Linked DNA regions of Homo sapiens: region 1 is linked to region 2. The links are contacts of gene promoters, found by promoter capture Hi-C in blood cells and fetal thymus (Javierre and others, 2016). All regions are on one chromosome and are shown on one strand. Each heading gives the region's core, a stretch centred on a gene start or on the middle of the fragment in contact. The rest is flanking DNA. Distances are from core to core; before and after follow the strand shown.

Region 1 (6,522 bases), core at 2,807-5,306, 620 kb before region 2:
TGGACGTGGTGGTTCACACCTGTAATCCCAGCACTTTGGGAGGCCAAGGCGGGTGGATCACCTGAGGTCAGGAGCTCGAGACCAGCCTGGCCAACATGGTGAAACCCCGTTTCTACTAAAAATACAAAAATTAGCCGGACATGGTGGCACGCACCTGTAATCCCAGCTACCCTGGAGACTGAGGCAGGAGAATCGCTGGAACCCAGGAGGCAGAGGCTTCAGTGAGCTGAGACTGTGCCACTGCACTCCAGCTTGGGCAATAGAGTGAGACACTGTCTCAAAAATAATAAAATAAAATAATAAAATTATTTGAAATAAAGTGTCATGATAGAATTGTTCACAAAGTACTGTGAAACACTCAAGTAAAAGTACGTCAATTCAGGATGTGCGCGGTGGCTCATGCCTGTAATCCCAGCACTTTGGGAGGCTGAGGCGGGTGGATCACAAGGTCAGGAGATTGAGACCATCCTGGCTAACACGATTAAACCCCGTCTCTACTAACAATACAAAAAATTAGCCAGGCACGGTGGCGGGCGCCTGTAGTCCCAACTACTCAAGAGGCTGAGGCAGGAGAATGGCATGAACCCGGGAGGTGGAGCTTGCAATGAGCCGAGACCACACCACTGCACTCCAGCCTGGGCAACAGAGCAAGACTCCATCTCAAAAAAAAAAAAAAAAGTAAGTCAATTCTACCTAGGGGAATCAACCATGGAGGACTTCACAGAGGAGGTGACATACGTAACAAGTGCATGGTGGCAGACACTTGCCTTCTTGTTCTTTCTCTTCTTTGGACCTTCTCCAGCTCTGTTATGGCTTCCTTTGAGCATAGTGATCCATTTTGCACACAGTATTCCAAAGAACAGGGAAGAAGAGTATTTCCAAACCTCTTCCGGTTGACATTTGGAAATAGGCTATGTACTCCATGATGTCAGGGTCCACGTTATGCACATAATTGCAAACTGGCACTGGGTATGATGCCTGGCACATCATAGACTCTTGATTAATATTGTGCAATTGAATTGCATTGGACTTCTTGACTACACCAGTTCATTAGTTAATGTCTTTGGAGAGTAGCTAAGAATAATCTGTGTGCCTTCACCTTCAGCTCCCAACTCACACATTTAGGTGGGTTATTATCCATCTCCAGTCTGGCCATCACTTACCTCAGTTTACTGGTCTTTTTCTCAGGAGCCTTCATGAGATCTTCCTGAATTTGTTCACATCCTCTTGGTCCTTCACTCCCTCAAAAGCATAGTGTCTTCTGAAAATCTGGAGATTTTATCATATTCTTCCAGATTATTCATAAAAATTAGGTAAAAATATTTCTGGTACTGATTCAATAGGCTGGAAAGTGGAAAAATTAAACTCTCTCTGTTTTTCAATAGCTTATCTCCTCCTTAGCTATGAAAAAAAAAAACAGCTGTGGGTTTTAAACAGACCTCTTCTACTTCTGGGCTTTTCCTGAGAGAGGCAGCCTGATAAAAATCTGAACTAAAAGTGAGAACATCTCTGGAAGTCGCCTGAGTCCACACAAATTCATCTAGGGATCTATGTGGCTGAACACTTCCTGCATCCAGTGCCTAGCTGTATTGCAACTTACCTGTCCATAATACCCTCTGGTGGGAACAGCATGCAATGGGAAATGAGGCGCTGCACCTTCTTGGCTAAGCCCATTCATTGCCTTAGGCTGTACTTTCAACTGAGTCATATAATTTTTCTGTCCGTTTTTGAAGTAAGAATGGTCAGACTTAATACTATACCCCAAGGAAATATTAAGAGAATGAATGCAAATTACAGAAATAAAAGGACTGTAGGGTTCCAGGAGAAAGATTATGCTTTTTGAATATGGAAAGGTAGTTTTGAAGTTAGAATTAGATGCAAGCACATGTGCCAGAAAACCCAAGAAATTGATAACTAAAATAAGATCAGAGTTTATCTCTCTTTTACTTAAATGAAGTCTGGAGTCAGAAGTCTAGGGCTAGATAGCTACTCAAAATCATGTAAGTTTCAGGCTCCTGTCTGGCTGCTCCACCAACTTTAGCATACTGCCTCTTGGTCCAAGGTGGCTGTGCAAGCTCCAGTCATCATATCCGTATTCCTGTCATCAGGAAGGAGGAATGGAGAAGAAAGGAATCTTCTTCCTTGAAGAACACTTCTAGAAATTTGCATACAACACTTCCAATTATATTTATTAGCTGAAACTTAGTTACATAGTACATCTAGCTGCAAGGGAGGCTGGACAATGTAGTTTTATTTTGAGCACCATGTACCCAGCTACAAATTGCAAGTTTTATTATCAGGAAAGAAGTGGAGACTAAATAAAGGAGACTAATAGCAGTGCATGAAGTAGGAAGGTGCAGATCATTGCCAGAAAGAAAATTATACTAATAGCCTATCAAGCACATACACAAAGTACTAAGAAATATGAAAATTATTGCTTATTTTATTTTAATACACAAGGGGGGACCTCCTTGTGTATTAATCCATTTTTGCAGTGCTATAAGGAAATACCTGAGACTGGGTAATGTATAGAGACAAGAGGTTTCATTGGCTCACGGTTCTGCAGGCTGCACAGGAAGTATAGTGGCTTCCACTTCTGAAGAGGCCCCAGGAAGCTTCTAATCATGGCAGAAGGCAAAGTGGGAGTAAGGTGTCTCACATGGCAGGATCAGGAGTGAGGGGTGGGGGTTCTACACACTTTTAAACAACAAGATTTCATAAGAACTCATTCATTCAGTATCATGAGAACACCACCAAGGAGATGGTGCTAAAGCATTCATGAGAAATCCACCCCCATGATCCAGTCACCTCCCACCAGACCCCACCTCCAACACTGGGGATTACAATTCAACATGAGATTTGGGCAGAGCCACAGATCCAAACCCTATCACCTTTGGTCACCTAATGGGTCTATACTGGATTCACCTTAGAGGAGCATCAGGAAGTTTCTTCTCTCTGATCTTTTATTTTCTTCCCTCCTCATTGCCACTCACCCCCATCTTTTCACACTCTGATTTTCCCTCAAAGTCTTAATTCTTCCTCCTCTTAGCCTCTAGCTCCAGCTGTCAGTCATCACTCTGGCATAGAAAATGCAGGAAGATAGCCCTTCCCAGGCCAGCTTCACAGAATACAGCAGCAAAACAGACCCCTATGTTGCTAATACTGATTGCTTCTTAGAGCACACTATGATAACTGAGCCTCTATCACTTTTTTATTTTTTCTTTTCTTTTTTGTTTTTTTGAAATGGACTTTTGCTCTTGTCACCCAGGCTGGAGTCCATTGGCATGATCTTGGCTCACTGCAACCTCCACCTCCTGGGTTCAAGCAATTCTCCTGTCTCAGCCTCACGAGTAGCTGGGATTACAGGTGCCCACCACCACACAAGCTGATTTTTGTATTTTTAGTACAGATGGGGTTTCACCATGTTGGCTAGGCTGGGCTCAAACTCCTGACCTCAAGTGATCTACTCACCTCGGCCTCCCAAAGTGCTGGGATTACAGGCGTGAACCACCGTGCCCAGCTTCTGTCACTTTTTTTCTATCTCATCAAAGATCTCCTGTTTTCCTGATTTGGAGATAAAGTAATTCTCCCTGCTCAATTATTGAGAAACTAAATATCCCACATGTGGATTTTCCAAGTTCTCATTGGTAAGCAATGCCCTCATTACACATCATATGTTATCTGACTATAGCACATTCCAGAAGTGGGTAGGATATTTATAAATAATGGGTATGGGGGCAGAAGCATTGCCTAGGAGGATTCCAGTCTTAGGAAACTGGCTGGGAGGCATCAGAGCTAAGAATTCAAGAGATCTTGTTCTAGGATAAAATTCCCTGTTTGCCGTTGGTATTTGTTTGAAGCGTCACCCCTAGCACTCTGCAGAAGGTCAGCCTGGGTTTCCTTGATGAAAGGAAATATGGGATAAGGGCCTGTGATTTCTGACAGGATTGAAGCCAGTGGAATGTGATGTCAGTAAGATGCTTTTGGTCCCAAGAAACAGAATATCCAATGATGGGAAAATGTTTTTGGTTCACATAAATGAAATATCTAGAGGTAGGGCAACCTTCAAGTATAATTGGATCAAGGCTCTGGCTTACTTTCTCCAGAATTCTCAAAAGTCAGCCGTCCTCAGTGTGGGTGGCCTTGCCCTCAGGCTATCTTCCCTCTTGGTAGCAAAATGACTGCAGCAGTTCCAGATCACAAACCTCATATCACTCAGTCAAAACAGAGAGAGAAAGCAATCTTCTCTTCCTTTAATGGACTTAGGTCCTTAAGTTCTGCACTTCTCTGTGATTTAACAAATCTAAACCAATCATGACTGCATGCAGACTGCCATGTTGATCTAGGCCTGGGTTACATGACCATTCTTTTAAGCAATTACTGTGGCAAGAGGGGTGGAGTTATATTGTTGGTATTAAGACAATCAGGATCCTCCCCTGAAGCTGGGGCTGGGGTCAGTATGAGCCAAACCTACATGGCTGCTATGCAAGGGGGAGAGATGAGTAGCCAAAGGAAAATCTATGGGCTGTTAGGAAGAGATGGGAGTCAAGGAATGGTATCTGGTATAAGTGACCCTACCAGGGTATCTTATTTCTGGGTTCTACCGAAATCAAAGGACTGTCAAGAGGGAAGGGAAGAAGTCCAGATGAGCAACTAAACCAGGTTAGTGGCCTGAGGCAGCTGTAGGGCTCTAAATTGGAGGATGAAGCCAGGTGGGCACAGAACCAAGAAGGTAGCAGGAAATATTGGAAGGAACCATTTTTAGTAAAATCCTTTTTGAAGTTCTGGCAAAATTTTAGCTGTGTTATAAGAACAAGGGTAAGGCTGGGCATGGTGACTCAATGTCTGTAATCCCAGCACTTTGGGAGGCCAAGGCAGGTGGATTACCTTGAGTTTGAAACCAGCCTGGGCAACATGGCAAAACTTCATCTCTACAAAAACATACCAAAAAATTAGCTGGGCATGGTGATGTGTGCGTGTCGTCGTGGCTACTTAGAAGGCTGAGATGGCAGGACCGTTCAAGCCCTGGAGGTGGAAACTGCAGTGATCTGTGCTGGTGCCACTGCGCTCCAGCCCAGGCAAGACTCTGTCTCAATAAAACAGGAACAAAAACAAAAAAACAAAACAAAGATAGCGTTTATTGCTGGGCCAGTGTCAAGCCCTGAACTGGCCCTTGGAGCTACCATGGTAGTGTTAATCAGCAAAAGAAAGTATAGAGGGATGTGGCCAGGGTTCTGTGGGCCAAGACCCTATGCCACCAAGAGATTCTACCTCTCATGTTGACTTCTATATTTCATGGTGCAAAAGAAGATGACATTGCTTTGCAACTTCTCTGAGGTATGGGAATGTGGCACCTCCCATTCTAGGAAAACTGTTAGTTGATTATGGATAAATCCAGGTATCCCTGAGCTTCCTGACTCCTCACTTTGACTCCTCCTATATCTTCCTTTCCTTCTTACCTTATACCTCTTGATTCCTCTTCTGTCTTCTTTTTCCTGTAAGCTTTTTCTTTTCTCTTTTCCTTTTTTTGTCCAGTCTCTTCATTTCTCTTCATTCTGCTTTTTCCTTCTCTGTCTTCATGTTCTCTTCTCTCCATCTCCTTTTTTCTTTCTTCTGATATTTCACAGATGTCTGACTAAATTATCTCTTCTATATAGATTTGAGCTTGATTTAAAAAATGATTATAGAGGGTGGAGGAAGGAGGAGTCAACAATGCCTGTGGAGCCAGGACAACCAGCCACCTGGGTAGGTTCAGGAAAGTCACTTCATCTCTCTGAACCTTAGCTTTCTCAACTGAAAAACTGAGAGGTGGATTATATGTTTTTTTTTCCCCAGGGCCCTTGTACTGCCCTTTAGGACATCTGGAAAAGGAGGCTAGGGGCCAGTCCCTCTGAATCTAGCCCTGGGTTTGTTTTTATTTGGGGTGAGTGGGGGCAAAAGTGGCATCTCTAATGGTGGGGGTGAAGATTAGTGACTGCTAATTGGCAGTTCAGGACAATGACCAAACTGAGGACCATGGCCTTTTCCCATCCTGGTAGGAGAGTCATGGTTTTGTAAAATAGTATTCAGTGTAAACTGGAGGCTCATTTCGTAGCACTTGAGAATATTGTCAGACAACAAAACTCACTTTATCTGGGAATGTCTAATTTCTCCTTCATTTCTGAAGGATGGTTTTGTCAGATGTAGAATCTCAGTTGAGAAGTGTTTATTTTTCTTTTTTTCAGCACTTTGAATATGTCATCCTACTGTCTTTTGGCTTCCACGGTTTCTGATCAGAAATCAGCTGCTAATCTGATTGAGGGTCCCTTGTACATGATGAGTTGCTTCTTTGTTGATGTTTTCAAGATTCTCTCTTTATCTTGCAACACTTTGATTATAATGTGTATCATCATGGATCTCTTTGGGGTTTTCCTGCTTGGAATTCATTGAGTTTCTTGGATATGTACATTTATGCTTTTCATCAAATTTGGGAAGTTTTTGTTCATTATTTTATCAAATGTTCTTTTCTGTCTGTCCCTTTCT
Region 2 (6,343 bases), core at 2,045-4,544:
AAGCTTCCCATCAAACAACCCACCCAGATCACCTTACAATCACTCCTACCACCACATTCTACAATATGCCTGAATTCAGAACATTCCCACACAGACTACCATATACTAATTCTATCTCCACACTTCAGCCTTAACAGAAATGTGTTTAAAATAGGGACAGGCAAACCCTTGGCAGGCTTATGTTTTTGCTTAACCATTATCCTTAAAGAAGGCTCCCCTAAATCAAATATTTCCAACTGCCTCTTTATAAGGCACCCCGAAAGCAATATACCATGGAAAGATGAGTGAGTTGTAATATTTCTTTTCACAAATGTTAAAAATATCAATGTAAAAGGAAAGGTGGGAAAGCAGAATCTGCATGAACACACAAGCCAATTTCAAGCAGATCAGATTTAGAAAGAATATATACAAAAGCTGAAGACTTGGAAATTATGTCTTTAAAACTACCTACGACAGGTACACCCCCAGGAGTATGTATTCTCCAGTTTAAACACCAATATTCTTGAGGCCTGTTTCTCCATCTCCACTACTCCCATATCCTCTTACTTTGTGTCATAAAACTTGTTAGATTAACCAAAACCTCATCCATCTCCACGGTTTTACATACCGATGTCACCTACTTATTAACAATCCTAATCCCTCCATCCCAAACCGTGCCTTTAACATTCAGATTTCTATAATAAACTGCCTGTCTCTGAAACTATTTAGATGTCTCACAGTTAACTTAACACATCCACAATGGAACTCTTGATGACCATTTCTTGCTCTAAAACCTGTTCCTATTCCAGTCCTTCCCATCTCAATAAGTGGCACCCACCTATTTGCTAAGCCAGAACCTTGAAAAAAAAAATTTTTTTTTTTTTTTGAGACGGTCTCACTCTGTCACCCAGCCTGGAGTGATCTCAGCTCACTGCAAACTCTGCCTCCCAGGTTCAAGCAATTCTCCTGCCTTAGCCTCCTAAGTAACTGGGATTACAGGCGTGTACCACCACACCCAGCTAATTTTTCTATTTTTGATAGAGACGGGGTTCGTCACGTTGGCCAGGCTGGTCTCGAACTCCTGGCCTCAGGTGATCTGCCTGCCTCGGCCTCCCAAAGTGCTGGGATTACAAGTGTGAGCCATGGCGCCTGGCCAGAAAATTCTTTAACAGCTTCATTGACATATAATTGACATGCAATACACTGCACATGTTTAAAGTGTGCAAATTTGATGTTTTGACATATGTATACATATCACTACAATCAAGAAAATGAACACATTATCATCCTCCAAAGTTCCATTTGCTAAGTCAAAATGTTACAAATCTTTTTTTCTTTCATCTCACATATCCAGACTATTAGTAAGTCACATAAGATCCTCCTCCAAAATGTCTTGAATCTCCACGATCTTCAGTGAGCCTTTAGTCCTCAACCTCCCTCACTTGAACTACCACACTCGCCTCTTAACTGCCCTCCCTACTTCCACTCTTGCCCCTGCAACTCATTCTCCACTTATCAACTCAAGATCATTTAGAATATGCTTTAGAAACAACGAATTACTTCCCACCCCATCCTTCACTTAGAATCAAGCCACATTTTTATGAGGCCTTTGAAAAGGCCCTGTCGGACTGAGCCCTGCTCACCTTTCTAACCACCTTTACTACTTGCTGGAGCTCCTCAGCTCTTGTCATAACATTCTTTCCCACCTCAGGTACTCTCTGCCTGGAGTATTCTTCCCCCTGCTTGTCAATTGGCTGGCTCCTTGCATCCCTTAGATCTTAACATTTCAGGCCTAAAATAGGTTTCTCAATTATATTTTAAAAGGAGCCTATTTACTTCCTGTATACAGTAGGTTATAACACAATCTGTAATTATTTTTATTTTACTTGTTTATTGCTTGCACTGCTGTCAAGAGAGTAAATACCATGAAAGAAGGAAATGCATGTGCCTTATTCACTTCCATATCATAGAACCTAGCACTTAACAGATGCCCTACAACTATTAAATGAACATAATATGTACAAATATGGTCTCTACAGAGGAATATACATTTATTTTCCACCACTCTTAGGCAATGCCACACATTGCATTCATCTCTTTCTGAAGAAGTGATGGCACATAAGAATATTCCTATTCTTCAGTGACTTGGGATTTTTCCCTCCTTTCAAACTATCTTAATCACTGTAGGCACATGAGCATATTCCAAACCAATAATTTGGAGGTTGCTATGATGTTACTAAGGGAAGAGCCACTAAACTAGGACGACTGCAAATCAGGACAAAGGGGCAAAAGGACGTGCACACTAACAAATACTAAATTAAAATTGGAAAAAAAAATTTAAATTCAAGAAGGCAAACAAAGGAGGACAATTTCTTAAGAAGCACCTAAACAAGTTTCCATGAAGGACCAACAGAGTGCTTGAATGTTAGCAGATTCCCAAGTCACAAAAACAAAATACTAGAGCTGAAAGAACCTGAGATCAGACAGTCCCGCTATATTCAGAAATCTGAGACCCAATGAGGTGAAACAGTTTACTCAAAGGGGAAAGATATGTGGCAAAGGACTATAGCCCAGTGCCTGGAACACCAAGACTAGTCTCGTTTCCCATTCCACACACAATATGTTAATGACATGTCACGTGAGGGGTTCGAGGAAAGTTGCCTAGAGAGTTCCCAATTCATTCCTTTCCTCCGGTTACTGAGCGCCTCCTACATGCCAGGCGCACTACAGAAGGTGCAGTTGATTCAGACAGGGCCACCATGACCGTGAAAAGGGTGCTTCCTCTCCCACCTCCGATAATTTTAGGTATAAAAACAATCCAGGTAAATTAGCCGGGTGTGATGACGGGCGCCTGTAGCCCCAGCTACTCGGGAGGCTGAGGCAGGCGAATGGCGTGAATCCGGGAGGCGGAGCTTGCAGTGAGCCGAGATCGCTCCACTACACTCCAGCCTGGGCGACAGAGGGAGACTCCGTCTCAAAAAAAAAAAAAACAGGCTTGCCCAGGCTTTTCTATGTCTGTTATGCGCTAAGAGCTGCAGCAATTTGGCTGAAAAGAGGTGTCACGAGGTAGCTAGGAGGGGTTTTCGGGTGGTCGGTTGTGAGAGACCGCTGACAGTAAAATGTAATGAACTTCTCACTTTTAAAAAAGGGGTGTTATTGCCCAAATGAGCGCTCAGAACTTTTTTAATGGCCCCAAAGATCCCGGAGCCCGGACGCCGGGCTCTTGAGAACCCGCAAGACGACCGCCAAGGCGCACGCACAGCTCACCTTCCCGCCCGGCACGTCAGAAGACCCGAGATTCCGTGAGTGCCACCGCACCTTCCGGTTCCCGCCGGAAGTTTTTCAAACGCCAGAAGGTCCGCCTCGCTTCTTCCGGACCAAGTTAGCCACAGACCTCCAAGGCGCGGCGCTACCGAACGGGGCGGAGCCAGGCTGGACGGAGGCGGGGCTAGAGCGAGGATCCCGAGGGAGCGCCGGGGTGGGGCTGGTTCGTAGAAATGAAAAATGACTTTTTTTTTACGTGTTATTTACCAAGAACACTAAACTCTTAAGCCCACAGATACAGCCAAATAAATTAGATTATAAAAGTAGGGAAATAAGGCTGCTGTTGTCTACATTCGAATTTAGCAGATCAAAACCCCATGGATTTGTTTTAGAAAATTCTAAAAAGCAGCTTTCCACTGCTAATGACTTATTTCCAGGGACTCTGAGTACTGAAGAGCCTAGCAAGTTATTGAAATGACCTGTGACCGTGCCTTGTTGCAGATCTACCGGAAGTGAGCATAGATTTTACTGGATAATTTTTGTGATTGGGGGAAAAAAAAAAGGATTCTTTCTAAATTTAGTAAATCTAATCTTCTATATCTGAGATTGTTGGCCAGGAAAGATCAGTTTCCGAGATTGTTTAGGGATTTTTTTTTCCTTTTAATTAGCACAGTCGTATGTTGCCTTTAGTGATGGTTCCAGAAGGCCTAGAATTGTCTACTACAATCACAGTCTCCTTCACAATTTATGGTCCTGAAGAAATACTAGAGAACACCTTACCGTTCAGGATTGTGGGAAGAGAAACCAGATCATAGAAATCAACAACAATAATGTACTACTTACTATTCACCTACTTTTGATGTTGCATTTGCTACTCAGGTTTATGGTAAGGGGTTGTCTTGGTCAATTTTCTGCTGCTGTAACCAAATACCATAGACTGGTAGATTTATAAAGAAAGAGATTTGTTTGGCTTGTAGTTCTGAAGGCTGGGAAGTCCAAGACAGAGGGCATTATTGTTGTGTCAAAATATGATGGAGGGCATCATACTGGGGTAGGGGTGGGGGAGGCATGTGAACCCAATTGACTCCCGAAATAACTAACCCTCCTGTGATAATGGAATTAACTCATTCATGACCTAATCATTTCCTAAAGGTCCCACCTCTTCATACTATTACAATGACAAGTTTCAACTTGAATTTTTGAAGGGGACATTCCAATCATTGCAGAGGTAGTAAGGGTAAAGGTGAACTAATATACTGCAAAGTCTTTTGACATAAGTCCTGCCCTGGAGGAATTTACGACCAAGAGTAGGAACCAGATACAGCCAGAGGAAACAGACACCCAAGCAAAACAGTCTAGCTTCAAGGGTTGGGTATGCAGGTAGTAGCCACACTACAGTGAGGAGGAGAGTAAGAGTGGGCCAGCAAAGCATTGAAGCTTGACTTTCCTCTCCCCACAAGGGATTTTTGCCTTACAGCTGGGGAAGAAAAAAAAAATCACAAAAATAAATAGCCTGTTAAGATTTTAGACATCAGACATCTGGGGAAAATAAAATCTGAAGCAGGTTCTCTAAAATTAAAGTATGTAGGTAGTGGCCTACTCTAAAGGCCAATAAGGACTGTCCAGAGAATATTTCCCTTGGAATTCTATAAGAGAGTCACTCCCACTACACGCTGTCAAGGAAAATTTGTAATCACTTAAGTATAAAACAGGCCCTCCCACAAAAACTGCCTTTTCTGTCTAGGACATTGCCCAATCTATTGTTTACTTTTGGATCTCAAGTGCTGAATTCCAAGAAATTCATGGGTTTAGACTGAAAGCCTGGAATAATCCGGACACCCACCTGAGACTATGCAATAGGGTTTGGGAGTAATGAAAACATGTTTTGGATTTGATGGAGGTTGTTTTATCCCTCCAAAGTATATAGCTCTTCCCATGATATTCACTGATACATTATCATTTGTATGTTATTATCTGTTTTCAAGTCCTTCCCCTATGGGTTCTAGCTCCCCAGGGCAAATGTAATAATAATAGTAATAACTTACCTTTATTGATTACTTACCTGTGCCAGGCACTAAGTTAATGCTTTTAGATGTATTTATGTATATAATTCACATATTACCCCAATGCAATATTGCTATTAAACCATTTTTATAAATGAGAATACCAGGTATAAAGAAGTTAAATAATTCATCTAAGGTCACATCAGCTAATAAATTGTAGATCTGAGATTCAAATCCAATAATCTGCTTTACTCCAAAGCAAGTACTCTGAAAGGTATCCACATACAATTTGCTGTCTATCCACAGGGGATTGGTCTGAGGACCCCCCACAGATAGCAAAATTTACAGATACTCAACCAATCAGTGATAGAAAAAGTTGGCCCACCACATCTGCAGGTTCCATATCCATGAATGCAGATACAGATGGCCAGCTGTACCACAAACTCAAAGCAAAGACCTTTTCTCGCTCCACTATGGTGGCCAGTGAGACTCTCAATGTTTAAGGTGCTCCAGAACTGTCGAATCTCTAAATACTCTAAATAAAGTACTGTCTAACCACCTGAAACATAACAAAGCTATTCTCTCTATTGGCCTCAAACTAAGTTTCATAAGAACAAAAATTCTTAATATATTAATAGATGCAACTGTTTCACCTACTAATAGATATTTGGATCTAGGAACTAACTCTTGGTAATTTTTTATCTCCCCCTCTCCAACTTCTCCCTCCACCTACACAGTGCCTAATAATGCTTAACATATAATAGGTACTCAATAATATAGTAGACTAACTCCTGGACCCAAAAACATGTCTAAAGTAAAAACAAATTTTCCTCCCCTCTCCACCTTCTCCCGCCACCCACACAGTGCCTAATAATGCTTGACATATAATAGGTACTCATTAAAAATAGTACACTAACTCCTGGACCCAATAATATGTCTAGAGTACAAACAAATTTCTCTTATGAGAAAAGTAAGTTAAAGCTCTTGACACAGAAGGTGGGTTGCCATTTTAAAAATCAAGTGTACTTATGAAAATTCAAACATTTTATCTCTGAGAGTCAATCAGTGTGATGGTTAATTTTGGGTGTCATCTTGAC

Evidence for each region. Contacts are between HindIII fragments. The CHiCAGO score rates a contact against its expected background, and 5 or more counts as called.
Region 1: a contact is called between a fragment that was not itself captured here and the fragment with the promoter of SRBD1 in region 2, in 1 of 17 cell types (neutrophils). The highest score is 6.8, in neutrophils.

Annotation. Positions count from the first base shown.
Region 1 is chr2:44,985,601-44,992,122 of GRCh38, forward strand. No RefSeq gene overlaps it. Among named protein-coding and RNA genes, the nearest start is that of SIX2, 21 kb to the right of the region's middle. The HindIII fragment of the contact is 2,887 bases long and covers 2,614-5,500 here.
Region 2 is chr2:45,607,973-45,614,315 of GRCh38, forward strand. SRBD1 (S1 RNA binding domain 1) reads right to left here and starts at 3,295. Exons shown (of 21, transcript NM_018079.5): 1 at 3,247-3,295. RefSeq lists an enhancer at 2,946-3,115. The HindIII fragment of the contact is 4,677 bases long and covers 2-4,678 here.